Regions from separate parts of the Homo sapiens genome. Here regions 2 and 3 are each linked to region 1. The links are contacts of gene promoters, found by promoter capture Hi-C in blood cells and fetal thymus (Javierre and others, 2016). All regions are on one chromosome and are shown on one strand. Each heading gives the region's core, a stretch centred on a gene start or on the middle of the fragment in contact. The rest is flanking DNA. Distances are from core to core; before and after follow the strand shown. Region 1 holds the start of SPRR5 (small proline rich protein 5). Region 2 has its middle 12 kb from the start of PRR9. Region 3 holds the start of LCE2C (late cornified envelope 2C).

Region 1 (5,000 bases), core at 835-3,334:
TTCAAACAACAAAATCATCAGACCAAGACATTCATGCCAGAGGAATTCTGTTTTAATTGTTTGAAAACAGGAGCTGAGGGGAAGCGTGGTAGGAGAAGATGCCTGTGCATGCCGCTCATGTTTCCAGCAGGGCAATGTAGATGCATGTCAGGAAAGATGATTAGATAGTTTAGAACCAGATCCTTGTCTGAGATGGAAACTGCAGCTGCTAATTAAGAAGAGTAGAGCTCGAGGAAGCCGCCAGCTGCCAGCCTGGTGCTGCCTCTCCTGCAAGTGTGAAGTGTGGCTGCATCCAGAAGCACTGGTGAGCAGGGCTTTGCTTGGCCTGTGGAGTGTAAGATGCTGGCCCAGAAGGAACTTCATGCTCTGTTTTTCCTGGGGGTTCGCCTCTGATCACATGCCCAGGGCTTACTTCTGCTTGGACGTCTGGCACTGCTGAGGGGGTGGGCACTTGGGGGCACAGGGCTCCTGGCACTTGGGTGGGGGCTGGCAAGGCTGCTTGGTCTGTTGGGGTGGGGGGCAGTACTGCTGAGGTGGAGGGCAGCACTGCTGGGGTGGGGGACAGCACTGCTGGGGAGGGGGGCAGCATTGTTGAGGCGGCGGGCAGCACTGCTGGGGTGGGGGGCAGCACTGTTGAGGCGGGGGGCAGCACTGCTGGGGTGGGGGGCAGCGCTGCTGGGGTGGGGGGCAGCACTGCTGCGGGGGAGCACACTGCTTCTGCTTCTGCTGAGACATTCTGGGCTGGACTTGCAACTGGAAACAGAAAGACACAGAAATGAGGAACACTTGAGCCATAGAGAGACCCTAAGCCCAGGTGAACCCCCTGCCACATTCCTGTCCTGCTCTGCTTTTACCTTGCCCTGATCCCTTCACAGATTTAAGAGGAGTGTGTGTGTGTGTGTGCGCGCGCGCATGTGTAAACTTTAAGTGTTTACAAGTTATTTCAACTCTTTTCAAGACAAAGAAACATGGAAGGAAGGAAAGATAGGAAAGGAGGAAGGGAGGGAAAACAGAAATGTTAGGAGGGGTTGAAAAGAAAGAAAAACATAAAAAAAGAAAAGGGAGAGAGAGGAAAAAAAAGAGGAAGAATGAAAGAGCAGACTGTTGTATCCTATTATAGCAAAACCTGTGGCATCTGGAATAAATTGCCTGGGATCTGAGTTCTGGCTAAATCATTTATTAACTATATGATTTTGAGCAACTAAGGTTTTCCATACTTACCTCTCTTAGAGTTGGTGCAAAAATTAAATGAGTATATAAAATACATACTTAAAATATGCATGCATACGTAGGTATGTATGTACCGACACACACATGCAGAGTAGTAGCACAAAATGAACACTATATAAGAGTTGTAATTTGTTAAGTAAATTCATAAACAATTTAAAAGGCGCATCTTAACCACTCTCTAAAGGAGTTTATAAAGAGAAAACTCTAGAGATAGATGAAATGGACTATCTAGCTTGCCTCTCTCAATTACAGTTGAGGAAAGCAAACCTCAGAGGGAAGGAATGGCTTCAAAGCCACTCGGCATAGATGGTGGGAAAAGAGGTCTCCTGATTCCCAGAGCAGAGCCTTCCATGGTGCCACATCGTCTTGTCCCTGCAGCCCTTTGCTCCATGGACATCCACAACTCTGCTGTCCCAAGGGAGTCTGTTCTCTTTCCTTCCTGCCTTCTCTTTTCTTTGAAAGGACAGTCCTTCCAGTTGCTCTGCCCAGAACTGGTCTCTCCTCTCCTACTAATTCCCTCTTAGCACCTGACAAGATGCAACACCCACACCATGCCAGCAGCATCGCTGAGATACTGACCCTCTTGTAGATACCCCCCTCCTTCTCCCTGCTCAGCCCAGCCTCCCACACTACTCTGCTGGATAACTTGCTGGACCCAAGATAGGTTTGTCACAAATGATATGGAAAAAAGAGGTACCCCAAAAGACCCATCCTTTCTGACCACCACCCAGAGAATCAGCCCAGTCCATAGTTGGTTAGGGATGCAGGCAAGGCAAGGCTGCTATAAGAGGTACTACCTTTCCAGACTTACCAAGGTTCACCAGCGACTGGAGCAGATAGGTGTGGAGGGGTTTGGGATGCTCTGAGCCTATCTACCTTTTATATACCTCTCATCCCTGCCTGAGGCCATGAGGTGGCCCAGGATTGGGGTGTCCTAATTAGTCCCTAGTCACAATAGGATCCACCTGTCCTTCCTCAAATTTTAAGTTTTACTCACCCCCAGGGCTGGTATGGCGGGATTTGGAGATGACAGTGCCTTCACCCTCCCCTTGCCTCATCTCCCCATCATTTTACGAGGACTGGCTTCCTTGGATTTCCAAACCCACTCATGACTTTTGACTTAGATCCCTGGCATCTAGGATGGTCCCAAGCAAGCATTCCGACCATGCTGGGTGTGGGGGTGTGAGGGCAGTGTTCTGGGATGTTCTGGTTGGCAGAGAGGAGGGGATGGGACAGGCAGCTTATGCAGGTAACATAAGAAAACAGCTGAGGGGGCAGATGGCTCTCTTGGAAACCCACCACCCTCAGCAAAGTTGTGACTTTGACTTGACCTAGGCTCAGAGTCACATTCAGCTTGAACTGGTGGGAAGACAAGACAAGAGGCTTTCATTTTTTACCTATTGTTATTTATACAAGAAATGGCAGCTGCCACTCTCTGTCTGTTCTGCTATTGGGAAAATCGTTAGGCCCCATTCGGGGAAACTGGTTGGTTACAGTAGATAGTGCTTATCTCTAAATCTCCCTACATATATCACATATCCATATGACTCCAGGGTTCCCAGGGAAATGATTATCATAAGGTGGAGGGGGTGGGGGAAGCTAAGAAGCATTGCATTAGAGTGAGCTCATGGAGGAGTCACAGTGACTGGATTCTGGGTTCTGAGCTCCTGGGGCCCCAGTCCTGGCTCTTCCTCCTAACTTCTGTTAGAAGTTCCAGGACAAAGAAGGGTGGCACGGGATACAGACTTGGATGCTTCCCATACCTGGCAAAGGATGGAGCTCATCTTTAAAAAATTCCCAAGTGGTGCTCAGACTGAGGCTCTGCCTTTTACCAGTTGGGTGACCTTAGGAACCAGATGTTTTTGCACTTCAATTTTCTCACCTGCTAAAGAGGGTAACAGCACCATTCTGCATGTCAGTTGTAAGGATTAAAATGGACAACTTATTTAAAGTATGTGCAAGTGTTTGGCACAAAATGCATGGTCAACAGTCGTTGGGTGCTCCATGGAGATGGGCTTTGAATACTAGGGCAAGACACACTCTTAGAAATATGGAATAGGAAGTTGAAAAAAGTTGGAGGCAAGTAGTGGCACTTGCCACCCAGTGTCATAAGCTCTTGGTTGAAAGAGACAGGAGGAATAAGTTCAAGGAATCCACTGGAAGTCATGTTGACTATAGTTAATAACAATATGTGACATGAAAATTGCTAAATGAGTAGATTTTAAGTGTTTTCGCCACACAAAAATGATACATATGTGAGGTAATACATGTATTAAATAGCTTGATTTAGTCATCCCACAATATATTCATATATCAAAACATCACATTGTACACTGTACATATATATAATTTTTACTTTTCCCCTAAAAATACATTAAAAAAGACTTTTGAGTGAGAGAAATGGAAATAGGCAAGCTAGTCCTGAAGATGGCACATTTTAAATCTCAGCCATGAAATTTAGCCATGGTTCCACTATTTAATAAAAGCCTTAGAACATCCCAAGACCTTGGGGAGTCATGCTGCATCACTAGAAGACACAGGTGTGGAAACCGATGTTCTCTCTCTTAAACCATGGTCCTGACTCTCTGGGATCACAAGATGTGCACGGGCTAGTAACTAAGGAGGGCCAGAGGAGTCCAGCCCTTCCCAGGAGGAGAATCCCTTCAAGCTGGTATCACTCAGACAGAAGCAGCCCCAGAAAGCCTGAGAGAGGGATTTCAGCTCAGGTCCCTAATAGCAGAGAAGAAAGACTATGTGGAGTTGTTATCCTGGGCTAACCATTTATTCATTAAGATGCAATTGTTCCATGTGCCAGGCACTATGTCCATGCTGGGGATGCAGGGGGAAGCAAGGATGGCCAGGCCCTTGCTGTTTCCAAGGCAACAGGACAGAGGGAAGCCTGGCTTGGCAAGTCTGTCCTTGTGAATCAGGCCTTTGTAGATGGGAAGGGGCACTAAAACTGTGTCACGTCCTCTTACCTTCTTACTTCCAACTCTTACAGATACTTTTCAATTGTTAGGTTTGTATTAACCAAAGAAATCAAACCCACATGTCACTGGAATGATGCCTACATGGCTGAAGAAAGTGTGAACATCAGCTAATTTGTGGGGCTTGGGGTGTTAAATCCTGTTAATTATTTTTTGTATGTGCCCCAACCACCTAGGACAGGTTTTTTTGTGTTTGTGTGTGAGTGTGGTGGAGTCAGCTACCTCAAGAATGTATAACACAGAACTGCTTCTGACACCAGAGGACAGAAAATGAATGGGTAATCTAGAAGCCACTAAGAAACCCAATTACTTATCCCAGGTTTTGGAATGGTATTAACCACTGACCTTCATTAGCATTGCTCTCTGTCTTTCTCTTTCTTCAATCCTGACTCACACACACACACACACACACACACACACACACACACGCACACACACACACACACACACACACACACACATGCATGCACATTTACACATAAACACAGGGGTCTTTCCTATACTCTGGCCCCAAGTATTTATGGGGGCATAAGGCCAGCATGCAGTAAAGTTGATGAGATGGAAGGTGGTATCTTCTGCCAATTTTTTTTTTTTTTGACAGAGTCTCACTCCGTTGCCCAGGCTGGAGTGCAGTGGCACGATCTCGGCTCATTGCAACCTCTGCCTCCCGGGTTCAAGCAATTCTCCTGCCTCAGCCTCCCAAGTAGCTGGGATTACAGGCATGTGCCATCATGCCTGGCACACCCGGCTAATTTTTGCATTTTCAGTAGAGATGAGGATTCG
Region 2 (5,000 bases), core at 1,284-3,783, 280 kb before region 1:
CATTCCCTCTGCAGGCTCCAGAGGGTGGGGCTGTCTTCTTCCTCATCCCGGGGTCTCCCTGAGGTTTGCTATGTCCTGTCTTCACACTGGGGCTTCCCTGGCAGCAAGGGCTTCCTCCAACACCGGATGAAGTCTAGGAACACTTAGGCCTCAAATTGAGGAACCTGTGATGGACAAAAATAGTAGCATGCATTACAAAAGGGCAGAATTGTCATTTTCCTTCTGCCTCTGTGGCCAGCATGGCAGGCATTTGGCAAAGGGCAAGGGGAGGCATGGTTCCAGCATCTGGAATCATCACACTGACTTTGTGTATGTATGTGTGTGCGTGTGTGTGTGTGGTATATGGTGTGAGAGAGTGCAGTGTGTGAACCTCATGCAGGTGAGTCTCTGGGGGGTGACGGGGAAGAGGTGCTCCCTCTTCTAGGAGGACATGGTAGGGGCAGAGAAGCAGGCATGGGCTGAGTAAACCCATGCAAAGTCTGATTAGGGCTTAAAGTGTGTTTGCCATCTGGGCCTGACTCAGCCTCTGGTGTCAAAGGTTCAGGCGAGGTTGCTTTGTGAACAGGGTGGAGTAGTCCGGGTCCACTTGTGGAAACTCTATAAATGGAAGCCTGGGCTTCGGTGTTGGCTTCCCTCCTGGTTTGGGGAAGTGCTGCTCAGTCCTGCCTCCTCCCACTCACCTTCCCACACCTGGACACCTGCAGCCAGGCATCTTTCATGAAGGCCTCTTCTGTCCTAGAGTAGGTCTGAGCTGGGATTTTCTTTGAGCAGCAAACCAATCCAGCTGCATCCAGGAACCCCACAGACTGCCCTGCTTGGTACCTCCCTTTGCTCCTCAGTCCACTCTGTTCTGTTCTGGCCTCTGTGTCCCCACTCAGGCTGTCCTCATCAAGGTCACCAGCCACTCTGCATTTCTTGACCAGTTAGTATTGGTTGACTCCATTGATTTTCCTTCCTTTCTTGGACACCTGTCTTCTCTTGTCTTTCCAGTCTCCACCCTCCTAGTTTCTCTTCCTTCACTGACCGCTCTTTGTCAGCTGGCTGTACAGGCTCCTTCTGCGCTGTCCAACCTTGAGATCTTGTGGAGTCCTCAGCTCGGTAGGGCCCTCTCTTCTTCTCCTTGGGTGATCTCAGCCACTCACATATCTTTAAATACCTTCTATGTGATGACAGCTCTCAAATATGTACATTTTTGGCCCAGATATCTCTGAGCTTCAGACATGTACCCACATATCTCCTAGTCCTCACCTCTCTGCATCCACCTAGTGGCCTAAGCCATAAACTTGGGAGTATTTCTGCCTTCTTTCTCCTCCTTTACCCCACACATTGAGTCCCCCTGCTACTCCTGTTAGTTATTCCTCCAAAACACTTAGCGTCACCCTCTTGTCTTTGTCTCCACTGCTGCCATCTACCACCTTTAGCCATAACTCTAGTAGCAGGTCCTTCCTCTCCCTATTTCATGCTTCCTCCAACATCCAGCCTTTATACATTTTGCAGATGGAATAATCTTTTGAAGCTTTGAATCAAATAAAAAGCCTCTACTGAGACCCCTTCGGGGTCTTCCCGATGCATTTTGAAAAACATCTGAACAGTATATACATGTTGTCTGAGGTTTGATGGGATACATGCTCAGGCAGGTGTGTGTTTATGCCTGTGAACAAACCTAAACAGATGCAGGTGCATATTCACCCTGGCCACAATGTGCCCACCCCAAGATAGCCCTATTGTTTAGGGTCTGGGACCCATCAGTGTCTGGCATCATGCTTGGCATTAGGTGCTCAGCAGGAGCTCAGTGAATGGATAAATGAGCTTTTGGTGTCCTCTAAGTGTAAACTCCACAAAAACAGCACTTTTGGTCTGTTTACTGCTACATCTCCAGCACCTAAAGGAAAGCTTGGCATACAGTAGCTACTCAACAAAGATTTGTTGAATGAAAAAATAAATGAATGAGAACACAATGAGTAATCTACAGATAGGCTTTGTCATTCTGGCTATTTAGGAATCAAAGGTAATGTGTTCAGTGACACTTTTGTCAGTCAATTCACATTCAAGAAAATGTTCCCTCAGATTTCCTCTCACCTCCAGCACGCTGCCATTGCCACCATCATGTAACCCATCATTTCTGTTGCTCTCACCTCAGATCGGCCTTTCCACATTACCCGAGCTAAAGAGCACCCCTCTTCCCTGGTCATTTTGTTTCATTTTCTTCAATTTCTTATTTATGCATTTGCTGAGTTGCTTTTTGTCTGTCTTCCTCCTCATGTGAGCTCTGGGAGGCAGGGATTCTGTGTATCTGGTTCGCTGCTGTAACTCCAGTGCTTGGCTCATAGGAGATTCTGTGTCACTTACTCTCACATAGGAGAAATTTGTTTTAAGGGAACAATAGAAGTGGTGGAGTCTAGATTTGAATTCCAGAAGTCTGATTCCTGAGCCTATGTCCTGAACCATTATTCGTGTTGCTCCCACCCTATAAGTAATGTAACTCTGTCTTGCACATATAGCCTTCCTCTGACTCTGTTAGATGCTGCATCTCTGTACTCTTGTCTTCTCCACATGGAGCATTGACTGGACCCGAGTGTGTGCGGCCATCTCCAACTCAGGCCAGACTGGGTGTGATTAGTAGAAGGCCAAGTGCCTCTATGGCCAGCAGGTGGTGCTGTTGGGAAGAGAAGAGAAAAGGGGTCCCCAGCGGCTTCTAAAGGAGGGAGGACTGGTTATGAGGCTGGCTTGGGAACCGGGTGATGAGGGAGGTTGAGTTGAGAAGGCCCTGCCAGCTGACCACCTCTTTTCTTTCAACCATGAATGGCGGTGGTGGCCCCCACGATACCACAGTCACCACCATCACCCCTGACCGACAACTCCAGAACACCAAGCTCCCCTCTGAGCTGGCCCTACAGGGCGAGTGGCCAGACTCTCACATGCTCGTCAGTTGAGACAGGGTCTCAAGGATGTAACCCAAACTATACATTCATTTAGTGTAAAGGTTATTCCTTCATGCATTATCCCCTGGATAGGCGACCTTAGGGGATGCCTCTCACTCCCTACCCTAGTTTTTGATGAACTCCTAAGCCATAGATTCAGTTTTAGAGATAAGTATAATAGTCCTTAAAGTATGATATTAAACATGACAGAGAGTGTGTCATCAAAGGTATTTCCCCTGGGTTAAAGCTTGTATTTTTAAACCAAGAATATGGGCATTGGAATCAGATGAGCTGGGTTTCAGCTCTGGCATTGATACTTACTGGCCGGATAATCTTGGTCAAGCTGTTAAACCTTTTGGGTCCTCAGATCATTTATCATTCATTCACTCACTTATTCCCATGTACCAGGATCTAATGGCAAACCACTGTGCCTTAGAAGAAGAGAAGTGAGTGGGAAGAGGTTCCAGTATTTGAGCAATCCCTGGGTGACCAGCCTGGCTGGACCCTCCCACCCCCATGCCTGCTCTCCATGTTGTCACTCAGTGTGGGCACTTCCTGATCCTCAGTGGCATTCAGCATTTTGCACACTCTCTCCTTCCTGACTTTTCTCTTAAATCATTGACTCCTTCTTAATCTTTTGCCAAGGGCTCTCTCTCTTCTCAACCTTTAGCTGTTGAGGTTTCTCAGGGCATGGTCTTAAGTTCCCTTCTTTTCTTAATCTATATTCTGTCACTGGATGATCTATACACCCCAAAGCTAGAATGCTACCCCTACGATGATGGCTCCCAAGTGTAGATCTCCATTCCTGAATTTTTCCCGCGCTCCTGACTCATAGATGTAAGTGCTTACTTTGTATTTCTGCTTGGTTATTCTGTATGCGTCTCAAAATTGACAGGTTCAAAACTGAGCCCCTGGTCTTCTTACCTGGACTGCACCCAAACCTGTTCCTCCTTCAGTCTTTCCCAGCTGCTTCTGGAAATGGTGGCTGCTGCTGCACAGAGACTTGGCTATAGCCATGGTGTCCCCAGTGGCTCCCGCTTCACCTCTTGCTTGCTTCCTCTAATCCATTCTCCACACTTTAACTAGAGCAATATTTACAATCTGCAAATTGAATCTTGTCACTCTCTGCTTAAAAATCTTTAATGCTTCACTCTTAGGGCAAAAGTCAAAACCTGTCACGTGGTCTCAGAGGCTTGTGGGGTCTGCTCCTGCCCACACACCTCCTGTCCCTGTCTGGGGACACAGTCCCTCTCACTCTCTATCTTTGTGTCTGAGACAACAATCAGGCTTTTCCTATATCAGAACCATCTTTTGTTTTCACTATAATTTTTTTCTTTTTGTCACCTGGACAACTCCTCCTACCTCTCCAGTTTCAGATTAAATTTTATTTTCTCATGGAAGATTTTCCTGATCTCTAATCTAAATTAGGTTCTCCAATTCATTATTTTATATAACCTAGAACTTTCTTTTGTTGAATGTAACAAAATTTAGAATTATGTATTTATTTTTGTGTATTTCTTATATTGATTGCCTCTTTTACTAGCTCATATGCTCTGAGTGCAGGGACTGTGTTTGCTTATTTATCATTGCATACCCAATACCCAGTATAGAGCTTGGCATGTAATAGGGGCTCAAAAATACTTGCTGAGTAATAGATTAATGAAAGGAAGTTTGCCTTGATATTAGACTGAACTTTGCTGAATGGGAATAGATTTTGAATGCTCGCATCAGCTTTGGAGGGTAATGTGAAGAGCATCTAAACTAGGCTATCTCAATTGTTATCTCTGAGATCTCGCGTAGGTTAATTTCTTTGAGCCTTAGTTTTTTGTCTATAAAATAGTCATATTAATATGACCTCCTTCTTTTGCTTGTTATAACGGTTATAATAGCAGCTAATATACATAAAGTGCTTAGAAAATATCTGCCACATAATATTCACCATTATTATCACTTTTAATATTATTATTTCCACTCTCTTCCTGGTGCAGGAATCACTCTACAATACCTTTGGCAGATAGTTTTGCCATCCTAGTGATGGGGAACACTCCTCTTGAAATCTCTAGCTACTTTTAATGAAAT
Region 3 (5,000 bases), core at 1,628-4,127, 270 kb after region 1:
CCATGAAAGGAGCACATGGAGCCCCAGATAGCAGGCCCACTGGAGAAGGAAAGGGCCGGTGAGTTGCTCTTACTTAAGGCAGAGGTCCCTGAAAGCATACTCGGGTGTCCACCCCTCCGCAGGCCAGCCTTCACCTGCCCCAGGCAACCTTAGGTCCCCCGCTTGGTGTTCCATTTTATACTGTTTGGGTTTTTTTATTTGTTTTGTTTGCTGACATGTAAACACTAAGGACAAGGAAAAACTTCTTAACCAACTCAGGAAACCCTGAAGCTATGAAAGCAAAGAAAGTCATATTTGAGTATTTAAAAACTACAAATATTTCCATAGCAAAAGTTATTATAAACAGAGTCAATTAATTATGATGTATTAAATATTTTAATAAAGACAGATCAAGGTTAATATCCATGATATATCAAGAGCTCTTGAAAATTGAAAAGAAAATTTAAAATCCTATTACAAATTTTGTAGAAATAGCCAATGTACATATTTATGGAAGCTCAAAATTACTACTGGTCAGGGACTTGAAAATTAGTTAATAATGAGACTGGCAAAATAATAAAGAGCATTGAGTCAAATAAACTGACTCAGTGCAGAGGGTGATTTAAAATGCAGACAGTACAGAATCTCAAACTGGTTAATCAGCTGGGTTTTTGTCTTAGTGGCACTAAGGGTAAGTAAGAAGGTAAACATATTAATAAGAGGCTCCATCTCTGTCAAAATCCGTCTTTGCTGAATCCATTATCTTCATGTCGACACCTGTCAGCCTGAACCTAAGAAGCACTAGCCCTTGTTTCCCCTGCTGTGTCCCTGCTTCCCTCCCCTTCCTCTAGTAATACTTAAGATGCCCCACCCATCCTGGCGCTTCTCCCCCCTCACATTCTGAGGGTGGCTTGGCAAAAAAGATAAGTATTGAAGGAGGAAAGGTCTATTCTTTCATACAGCGTTTTGTATTCTTTGTATTCTTATGTTCCTTATATTCTTTGTATCTTCTAAGCAACACTTCCATGTTTTTTCACTTAATATCTCCATCACTCATCACTCCCCTGCCCAGCACGTGAGCCAAGTGGCAGGACAGCATCCTGGGACTCAGATCTAACACTGTGAGGAACTGAAGCCAGGTGTCCAAGGCAGCAAGTCAAAAGGCTGATCTTAACCAGACTCATGAAAAGAAGCTGAGTGACCATGGGCTGTACTTTACAGGAGGAAGGGTCTCAACATCTGTTTCAAGCATTTTATCCAACTATTGATTCTAAGGGCAGGAAAGTTTTGCTTCATAGGGATGTGTTCTTCTCCCTAGAGAAGAACAAGTCTGCAGAGCTTCCCAACCTTCCCAACGTCTGGATTACACAGAAAATTAGAACATGTGTCTGGCTTAGTGGAGAGAAAGGCAAAGCTACCATAGCCAGAGGTGACCCTCTTGGAGCTCCATTCACTCAGCATCTGGGGGAATCAGTTCCTCAGAGCAGCTTTTCATGTATCACCTACTCATGTCCTGTCCTAGCCTCATGAAGAAAATTACTCTGAGGCCCTGACCTTTGGAGGACATTTGAAATCTCAGAAGAGAAGAGAATGACCAAGACATTTAGTGAGTCAGAGATCAGAGCTTTATTATAACATGAGGTAAAGGAGGAAAAGAAGACTTGCAATTGGGGTGTTACATCAAGCACGAAGTTCTTCCAGGAAAGCCCCATGAGTCTTTGTGGTCTCTGCCAACCAATGAATGGAATGAGAGGAAGTGGAAAGAGTATCCATCAGGCCGTAGCAGGTTCTTGGCCATTCAGTCCCAAGAGCTCTTCTGTAGCCCAGGTCAGCAGCAGCCCCCAGAGCTGTGGCAGCAGCCAGAGCCCCCAGAAGGTTCACTCTCACAGCAGTCGGGGCTCTGGTGCCGGCGCCGGTGGAAGAGACGGGGCCTGTGGTGGCTCAGGGAGCAGCCACCAGCCCCAGAGCTGCAGCAGCCCCCAGAGCTGGGACCACAGCAGCTCCCAGAGCTGGGACCACAGCAAGAAGAGACTGCAGGGAAACATGGAGCTGGGCACTGTGGTGGGCATTTGGGGGGACACTTAGGTGGACATTTTGGGGTACACTTGGGAGGACACTTGGGAGGGGGCTGGCACTGCTGCTGGTTTTGCTGGCAAGACATGCTGGCAGGAGTTTAGTCAACCTGAAAGATAATAATGAAACTCTTTAAATATTTCAAACCAAGGATCATATTATACCTCTTCTAAAATCAATGCATGTGTAGAAGAAGAATGATATTTAGATAATACAATCACATCAGTAACCTGAAAGAAACAACTTGAATCTTTCCTCTAGATAAAAGTACGTAGATAAAAAATCAACAGAATGAGCTTCTTACTCTTCCTTTCAGGGGAAACTGCGATTGCTCTATCCTCACAAGCCCGAATAGAGTATTCACAGCTCCCTGAAGTACCTATTCCTTTAATACAAGCCCTAAGGACAAGCTGGGTGTTGCAGGACATACCAAGGGGTCCTCTGGAAAATATTTTGCAATGAAACCTCCAGATAAAAGAGCCTGGCTTGAAGTATTTGCCAGTTTCCATGGTGTAAATATGCCCAACACAGCAGTTTTGAAGTTACCAACATGAAGTCACTGAACACAGAATTGGAAAAGATGTGCACAGTTAGCTTTCCCCACCTATATGAGCTCCGGTAGGCCTCAGAGCCTCAACAGATTCGAGGCAGGCTGAGTCCCATTCCTGCTCAGTATGGCAGAACACAAGCACACAACTCTTTCTCCAGCCTACCTCCATCCTCCCCATCCCTCTGCCTTGCTCATACCCCTCTGGTATCCCAGGTTGCCACTCACCCTGGTCACACGCAGGAGCACAGACACGTCCCTGGGGAGTCAGAGCAGATGAGATGCTGAAGCTGGATGTGTCTTTTATAGGGCCCAGGCTTGGCTCTGGAAAGAGCAGGAGGTGGCTCTTGCACAACCAGGCACACGCTGGGTCATTCCTGACATTCTCCTGCCTCTTAGTCCCTGCAATCCAAAGAGGCCTCAGGAGCTTCCAGGACTCCTCTCTGGGGCTGCAGTCTAGAGAGGCTGTAGCCAGTCAGAGCCTCCACCAGGTGGGAACCCTAAAGAGTTAACTTAGGGTACCCAAGGGACCCACACCTGGACAAGATTCTGTTCCCTGCATTTTTTTAATGCATGTCCTCTGAGGAAACATCAGTTCTGAGCCACAGCTTTCCCTGACCTTGTGGAAATGTTCCATTATGACTCCCTCCACCCTGAGCAGTTTCTCTTCCATGTCCTGCTGTGGATCCAGCCATCCCAGAGGGCTTCTACAGCCTTGGCTTTTTCTAGGCATCCCTCCCTTGCCTAGGCTCTCAGCCCTTCCTCCTGGCCTCTGTGTTTCTGCTTTTCCTCCGACTCACCATGGCAAGCAGATTCGGTGGATTAAATCTGAGTTGATTCTGTCACCTAAAGCAAGGAGAATGATTGAGAATAAACAATTCCCTCTAAAATCTAAACATTTCCTTCAGTCAGAGGACTTGTATTGAATGTGCTACTGGAATCAGAAAACTTGCATATGATAACTGGGTAATCTCTGAAAGTTGCTGTAACAATTATCAATAATTGCTAGAGTATTACTATGATACTCACTGTGAGTATCAGTTCTCACATATAATGCCCATTATAAACCTATCAGTGAGATATACCTATCTCACTGAGCTGTTTGTAATATAAAGTGAGAAGCAAGAAAGAGCTAAGTATGACATTTTGTGCCTGATAGACCCTTAATAAATATATGTTTAATAGAAAAACTAATGCCATGTATTGGATACTTGCCCCGGTCTTATGTGTCATTAATTGCCCATATAGAGCCCTTACCCTCAGAGAGCTTAACTCCACCAGACACTTAGATTATTTGAAACCTGTCTTGGGAAGTAGACATCATTTCTTGGGGCTCCTATGCAGAGGGAACTCCTTTCCTACCAGGAAGTAGAGGGTCAGCCAGGAATCTAGTTATTCAGAGTTCTGATTCAGGGTTGCACTAGACAGAGTTACCCAGTCATTTATTCATTTAGTTTAAACAGATACATTGAGTGTGAACCTTGAAAACATTACACTACGTGAAAGAAGCCAGTCACAAAAGACTGCATATTGTATGATGTTATTTATATGAAATGTGTAGAGTAGGCAAATCTCTGGAAATAGAAAGGGGATGAGGCTTTAGCCAGTTACAGCCTCTCCCAGGCTGGACCCCTGAAGAGCTGACTCAGGGCATCCGAGGAACAAGAGCCTGGATGAGATTCTGTTCCCTGTATCTCCTTTTATGTTTATGCCTGTCCTCTGAGAAATATCAGTGGCTTCCAGGTGCTTTAGCGGGCTGGGAGATATTGAGAAGTTACTGCCAATGGATACAGGTTTTCTTTGTGAAGTAATGAAAATGTTCTAAAATTATGGTGGTGATTGTCCAACTCTGTGAATATACTGAAAACCATTGAATTTACACTTTAAACAAATGAACTACAAATATGTTAATTACATCTCAATAAAGGTGTTAAAAATTAGAATTGAAAAAAATAGATATTCACACCTCTGATTAAAACAGAAACAGACTGTGCCTTCACATTGCCTAATGCCTACTTAGTGGGGGAGGGGAGGATGCGGAGAAAGCATAGTTTCCCATTGTCAGCTTCTAACTGAGGGATTCTGTTCTCCTAGTTATGCAATCCTATTATCAGATCTGATTCCTGCTCTCAGGAAGCTTTTACCTGAAGGATAAAGTAAGTCAACAGTGTGGTCAGAGCAGTGAATTCAAAAGGCATTCTTTGAAAGCCTACAACGTTCTTGAATCATGTATGTCCAAATATAGGGATATAGAGGTGAATAATAAGTAGCCCATGACCTCAAGGACTGTAGAATTTTTGTAGCCTTTTTGAAGATGACTGCAGACAAACATAGGTCCAAAGAAGATGACGTTTGGGGCCTGAACCTCCTGAGTCACTATTTCCCAGTGTGATTAGAACAT

What was found. The method cuts DNA at HindIII sites, captures the fragments that hold promoters and counts their contacts. A CHiCAGO score of 5 or more calls a contact.
Region 2: a fragment that was not itself captured here is called in contact with the fragment with the promoter of SPRR5 in region 1 in 1 of 17 cell types (erythroblasts); the score reaches 8.0 in erythroblasts.
Region 3: a contact is called between the fragment with the promoter of LCE2C here and the fragment with the promoter of SPRR5 in region 1, in 5 of 17 cell types (M0 macrophages, total CD4 T cells, erythroblasts and 2 more). The highest score is 11.0, in M0 macrophages.

What each region holds. Positions count from the first base shown.
Region 1 is chr1:152,944,290-152,949,289 of GRCh38, reverse strand. It overlaps SPRR5 (small proline rich protein 5), which reads right to left and starts at 2,084. Exons shown (of 2, transcript NM_001395435.1): 1 at 2,042-2,084; 2 at 35-753. The coding sequence starts at 735. The coding sequence ends at 409. LINC01527 (long intergenic non-protein coding RNA 1527) reads left to right here and starts at 80. Exons shown (of 2, transcript NR_183723.1): 1 at 80-304. The HindIII fragment of the contact is 11,414 bases long and covers 1-5,000 here.
Region 2 is chr1:153,227,110-153,232,109 of GRCh38, reverse strand. No RefSeq gene overlaps it. Among named protein-coding and RNA genes, the nearest start is that of PRR9, 12 kb to the right of the region's middle. The HindIII fragment of the contact is 1,275 bases long and covers 1,896-3,170 here.
Region 3 is chr1:152,673,156-152,678,155 of GRCh38, reverse strand. LCE2C (late cornified envelope 2C) reads right to left here and starts at 2,877. Exons shown (of 2, transcript NM_178429.5): 1 at 2,828-2,877; 2 at 1,587-2,161. The coding sequence starts at 2,140. The coding sequence ends at 1,808. The HindIII fragment of the contact is 8,836 bases long and covers 1-4,738 here.